Regions from separate parts of the Homo sapiens genome. Here region 2 is linked to region 1. Evidence: promoter capture Hi-C in human tissues and cell types (Jung and others, 2019). All regions are on one chromosome and are shown on one strand. Each heading gives the region's core, a stretch centred on a gene start or on the middle of the fragment in contact. The rest is flanking DNA. Distances are from core to core; before and after follow the strand shown.

Region 1 (3,361 bases), core at 862-3,361:
TTATTCAACCATAAGACACTTAATTTCATTTATGTCAGGATCAGGATCAAAGTATGTAATGAAATATTTGAAGCCGAACACAAATTAGAAAACAATTCAAGATTTTACACATGCCCATATTACAACGTTGTCTTAGATTCCCGGCCAATGGAGCTGCTTTTGTTTGCCATAACAGTACACATTTAAAATAAATGAAGTTCAAGATATTTCTCTGGCTTAATATTTATATTGCCTTTTTGTGGGTTCTTAGTATATTAGAACGAATAGCACATTAAACAAAACACTGTCATGAGCCCTTAGGTACCTTGAGGAATAATGGAGGGAAAAGAGTCAAACACTTTACTCCCTTCTCTCCTTGTCACCGACCCCTAAATATACACAACTTGGACACTAAGGACTAAAACTCCATCCTCTTTCCCTGCCCCTCACTGATACGGAAGAGGGGAATGGAAGTGCTGGAGGGGAGAAGGGTGTGGTCCCTGACTAGGGCTCTACCCCCAGGCCTGTGGCCACGGACCTAGGTGAGGACAGGCATTCCTGCCTTTGTGCCCAAATATTGCATTTCCCAAGACCACCCTGGCCCACCACGCCCCCATCCTGTGCCTATAAAAACCCTGATACCCTAGCAGGCAGAGACACAAGCTGCTGGACGTTGAGAGGAGAGCATTGGCGGACACACAAACAGCTGGCTGTCGAGAGGCTGTCGAGGGGAGCGGGTCGGCAAAAGAGCACACTGAAGAGACCGGCAGGCCAGCAGGCCATTAACCGGTGGAATAACGCAGTTTGGCCTGGGTAGTCGGAGGAGCGCCCAGGCCGCTGAGAGGCTGACTCCAGGCGAAAACCATCTCCCTTCTGGCTCCCCCTTCTGCTGAGAGCTACTTACAAATCGTTCTCCAAGGTTTCTCCAATCCTTGCACTCTTTCTCCAAGCCTATGTGTGATGCGATTCTTCTGGTACACCAAGGCAAGAACCTCTGGGATACAGAAAGCCCTCTCTTGCTTGCGATAAGTCAGGGGTCTAATTGAGCTAACACAAGCCTCCTACAGATGGCTGAACTAAAAAAGCACCCTATAACACACGCCCACTGGGGCTTCAGGAGCTGTAAACATTCACCCCTAGACACTGCCGTGGGGTTGGAGCCCTACAACCTGCCCGTGTGCATGCTCCCCTAGAGGTTTGAGCGGCTGGGCACGAAGAAGCGAGCCACACCCCATCACATGCCCTGGGAGAGGGAGAAGTGAACTTTTCCCGTTTCATCACAATTTACTTTCGGCACTAACATGATTGTTCAGCTGTCTTCATCAGCAGGCCTTTATTCCAGGAGATTCCTGCCCAAGCAAACTGTTTAATTGTTCATTATGGGAACTTCCACAGAGACCCATCAAATTTTCAATCTCTTCCAAAGAAAGTGTCAATAGATTGCAATTTAAGATTCTTTGCTTCAAAAATCCTTGCTATATCCACCAATCCTGGACTGTAGTATCATGATCATTATGCAATACTAATAAAATCCCTTGCATTGAAAGACCCGCCTTAAACATCCAGTTCTCAATCAGTTCCAACCTTGCCTTGACACTTTGCTCTGTGAAGGTGCCAACGCTCCGTCGAAGTGTTGTTCTCCATTACTGCAATCAACAATAAATTCTGTTTTTTGTCTTATCAACAGGTTGAGTTGATGATATTTGGGGAGCCGGCATTTGACACAAGTTTGAGATCTGGTGTTCCTTAACGTTCAGCGTCCATCGGAGCTCAGCCTAAGTCACTTTTACGCTTCCCATTTTAGCCTACCCTCTGCTTCTGCGAAAAATTTTGGTTTCTAACTTATTTTAATAATACAAGCTGCACTTTTCATTTTTATATGTCATCACTTTAAAAATTTTACAATTATTTTCTCATGAGCTTTTAAAAATGAATAAAACAAAAACGAATCTCACAGTAGTAGCACCAGAGAAGTGGCTCAAACCCAACCGGCTTGAGTCAAAACAAAGCCCAGCTGGTGGGAAGCGCTGCCCTTGGAGCATTCTGGGAACTGTAGTCCAGGAGTGAGAGAACTCTGAGACGCTTCCGCTTAGGAATTCTGGGAAGTGGAGTCCACGAACCGTGGGCACTCGGAGGCACTTCCGCTCCAGGAAGGCGAGGTCGGATCTGAGATATCTCCCAGGGAGGTGAGTCAGCTCCGGGTCTCCAAGACTTCTCCGAGCCCTCTTTGCCTAGGCGTGGGGCCAGCAATGAACCCGTCCTTGGCTTGGGGAAGAGAAGCCGCGGCCAGCGCTGGAGGGCGGGGTTGGGAGGCTGCGGGAGTTTGCGTCCCCTCGGCAGAACCTCTTGCGTGGGAGGCGGGCTCGCGTCGTCCTTCGAGGTTGAGGGTCTGCTGCCCTAGCCGTCCTCACGCACCTACCAGCCAGTCCTGCCTGCTCCTCGCAGTAAAATATTGGGCAAGTTACTTAATCTCTCCTTGTCTCAGTTTCCTCGTGCCTGTAAAGGGTTAGTGCGTTCCCAGTGATGTTCTTGTGAGAATTAAATGAGGTTTTATAGAAATAAGCTTAAAACCAGTGCATAGGAAAATGTTGGATGCCACCGTTAATTCTGTTATAATACTGAAAAAGACGCCTGTTGTTTGGAAACTCCTCTGAGTCTAGGAGATCCAGCTACGGAGCCGCTGTCCCTTCTCTAATCCTTGCCTGATGTGGGGCCGTTCCTGGATTCTTGGACTTTTCTAGCCTCTTGTTTAGGAGACAGGAATTAGTTCCAGCGGAGCCTGGGGAATGTCCTGTGTGTTTTATCTCAGATAAGCGATCGTCATTACGGATTTGCAGAGTGCCAGAGGTGTCCTGAGGCCCTAATAAATGTTCAGTATAATGTGGTTATAACCAATAATCCCGTGTGGTTAACTTAAGTGTAACACCATTTCTTAGAGAGTTTTAGGTTTTTATTAGTCATTGCTTTCATGCATGTGGAAAAAGAGACTTTCTTGAGGCTCCTCCAGCTTAGTAACATTTGCAAGTAATTACATCTGTTGGAGGAAAAAAAAACCTGTGGCAGTTTAACTATCATTACCAACGGAACTAATTATGTTAGACAACCAATCACAGTTACAGACTTTTCTGAGGGTAATGGTAACTCACAGGACAGAGCAATTATTTTTGAGTTCTGGGTTTCTTAAAAGATTCATTTTCTAGAAAGCATACTCAAAAGGGCAGTTTTATGAAGCATAATAGCACTTGCTTGTCAGAAGCTGCAGGAAATAGAGAATACAGGCATTATTATTGTCCCCATTCACAGGTAACTGAATTAAGGCACAGAGAGATTAATAATTCGCTTAAGGTTTATACTGCTGATCAGTTGAAAATAGGTAGAAATG
Region 2 (3,162 bases), core at 368-2,867, 60 kb after region 1:
AACCCCATGAGTTAGAAGAGAAAAGGGAAAATAAGAAATAAAAATAAAAAGATAACATATCAGAACTTGTAGAATGCCACTAAGGCAGCATTTAGAGAAAAATTTAGAGCATGAAATGCTTATATTGGAAGAAAAGGAACTTACATCAATTATCTAAGCTTTTTTAAGCTTAATAAACTTTAAAAAAAAAAGCTGGGTGCAATGGTTCACACCTGTAATCCCAGGATTTGGGGGAGGCCAAGGCAGGAGAACTGCTTGAGCCCAGGAGTTTGAGACTAGCCTGGGTAACAGAGTGAGACCCTGTCTATGAAAAAAGAAAAACCCCTAAGCAAGAAAGAAGAAAACAACAAAAATGAAAGCAGAAATCAACCAAACGAAAAGGATAACAATAGTGAAGAAAAAGCAATAAACTTTGAAAAGAACAAGAAAACAAAACAGAAATTACCAATTGTAGGACTGAAAGAAGGATATGATTACAGATCCTAATGACAGGCCAGGTGCAGTGGCTCACGCCTGTAATCCCTGCACTTTGGGAGGCTGAGGCAGGTGGATCACTTCAGGGGTCAGGAGTTTGAGACCAGCCTGGCCAACATGGCAAAACCCCCTCTCTACTAAAAATACCAGCTACCCAGGAGGCTGAGGCAGGAGAATCACTTAAACCTGCCCCGGAGGCAAAGGGTGCTGTGAATGCAAGATTGTGCCACTGCACTCCAGCCTGGGAGACACACACACACACACACACACACACACACACACACACGCCAGATCCTAATGACATTAAAATGATAATAAGGAAATATTATGAACAACTTTATGCCATATGTGACAACCTAGATGAAATAGACAATGTATTTAAAAAAGAAAAACTACCAAAATTTATTCAAGAATAAACAGACATCCTGAATATTCCTATACCTATTAATGAGATTGAATTCAAGTTAAAACACCTCCAGAAACACCACCACCAGGCCTAAGCCTCTTATATGTACCAAACATTTAAGGGAAAAGAAACTACCAATTCTACACAAACATTTTGAGGAAAAAGAAGAAAATAAAGAGGAGAAAAACACTTCCCAACTCATTTTATAAGGCTAGCATTATCTTGTTACCAAAATTAGAAAAATGCATGAAGACAACAGATCAATATTCCTCATAAACATAGACACAAAATTCTTCAACAAATACCAGCAAGTCGAATATATGAAAATAATACTACATCATGATTAAGTAGGTTTATCTCAGGAATGCAATGTTGTTCGAACATTTTAAAATGAATGTTAAGTCACTATATTAATAGACTAAAGAACAAAAACTCTTCAATCATCTTAGTAGATGCAGAAAAAGCTCTTAGGGAAACAAGCAAAGAAACAGAAAACATATTGGAAAACAAGAAATAACTGTCTCCATTTGCATACAACATGATTATGTATAAAGAATGAAAAAGTTACCAGAACTAATAAATCAGTTTCAAAAGGTCCTGGGATGCAATGTTAATATACAATGTTAATATAAATAAGTTGCATTTCTATATACTATTATGAACAAATAGAAACTTACAACAGAACAAAATTTTCAGGAATTTTTTAAGTACAAGTCTAAGAAAACAGGCAATATCTGTGTACTGAAAAATACAAATCACTGATGAAATAAAAGACCTAAATAAGTGAAGAGACATGCCATTTTCACTGATTGGAAGACTAAAGAAGTCAAATCTTCCAACACACTTCCCATTAAAAGCCCTGCAAATATTCTTTAAAAGAATCAACAAGATGATTCTACAACTTACATGAAAAAGCAAAAGAACTAGAATAGCTAAAACAATTTTGAAAAAGCAAAGTTGGAAGACTCGTGCTACCTGATTTAGAGAGAATTACTATAAAGCTATGTTAGTAATCAAGAACAACTGGCTGTGTATGGTGAAGAGACAAAAAGATCAACGAGCTAGAATGGAGAGTTCAGAAATAGGCCCACTCATATACGGTCAATTGATTTTTGACAAAGACACAAAGTCAATTCAATGGAGAAAAGATCATTTTTTCAACAAATGGTGTTGGCATAACTGGACATCCATAGTTTTAAGATGAATAAACGTGTTTTGTATTATATATAAGTATTATCTAAAAATGGATCATACATCTGTATGTAAAACCTAAACTTGGCCAGGCATGGTGGCTCACGCCTGTAATCCCAGCACTTTGGGAGGCCGAGGTGGGTGGATCACGAGGTCAGGAGATCCAGACCATCCTGGCTAAAATGGTGAAACCCCGTCTCTACTAAAAATACAAAAAATTAGGTGGGCGTGGTGGTGGGCACCTGTAGTCCCAGCTACTCGGGAGGCTGAGGCAGGAGAATGGCGTGAACGCGGGAGGCGGAGCTTGCCGTGAGCCGAGATCGTGCCACTGCACTACAGCCTGGGCGACAGAGCGAGACTCCGTCTCAAAAAAAAAAAAAAAAAAAAACACCTAAACTTATAAAGTTAGCAGAAAACATAGGAGAAAGTCTTTGAGACCTTGGATTAGGCAAAGGTTTCTTAGATATGACACCAAAAGCATGATACATCAAAGAAAATTATGATAAACTAGACTTCATAAAAATTTTAAACTTCTGCTTAACCACAGACTGAGTGAAAAAATTTTGGAAATCACATGCCTGATAAAGCACTTGTATCAATAATATACAAAGAACCCACAAAACTCAATAAGAAAACAAGTAACCCAATAAAAAAATGGGCAAAGTATTTAAGTAGACTTTACCAAAGATATGATAATGGAAAACAGCACATGAAAAACATGTTTAGAAAAATGCAAATTAAAAACACAGTGAGATACTACTAGGGTAGAATGGCTAAAATTAAAAGAGACCGACCGTTACATATTTTGATGAAAATGTGAAGAAAAGATGCACACTGCTGGTGAAAACGTAAAACAGCACACCCACTTTGGAAAAGAGTGGAAATTCCTTAAAAAGTTAAACACGGGCAGGCACAGTGGCTCACGCCTGTAATCCCAGCACTTTGGGAGGCTGAGGCAGGTGGATCACAAGATCTGGAGTTCGTGACCAACCTGGCCAGCACGGTGAAACCCCATCTCTACTAAAAATATAAAAAATTAGCAAGGCATGGTGCCACATGCCTGTAGTCCCAGCTACTCAGGAGGCTGAGGC

The links. Contacts are between HindIII fragments. The study calls those that stand out against the background at their distance.
Region 2: a contact is called between a fragment that was not itself captured here and the fragment with the promoter of ZNF235 in region 1, in 4 of the 25 tissues and cell types used here (lymphoblastoid cells, pancreas, stomach and 1 more).

The regions. Positions count from the first base shown.
Region 1 is chr19:44,303,775-44,307,135 of GRCh38, reverse strand. It overlaps ZNF235 (zinc finger protein 235), which reads left to right and starts at 2,111. Exons shown (of 5, transcript NM_004234.4): 1 at 2,111-2,165. RefSeq lists enhancers at 197-696, 697-1,198, 1,775-2,328. The HindIII fragment of the contact is 12,168 bases long and covers 1-3,361 here.
Region 2 is chr19:44,243,334-44,246,495 of GRCh38, reverse strand. No RefSeq gene overlaps it. Among named protein-coding and RNA genes, the nearest start is that of ZNF233, 15 kb to the left of the region's middle. The HindIII fragment of the contact is 6,215 bases long and covers 1-3,162 here.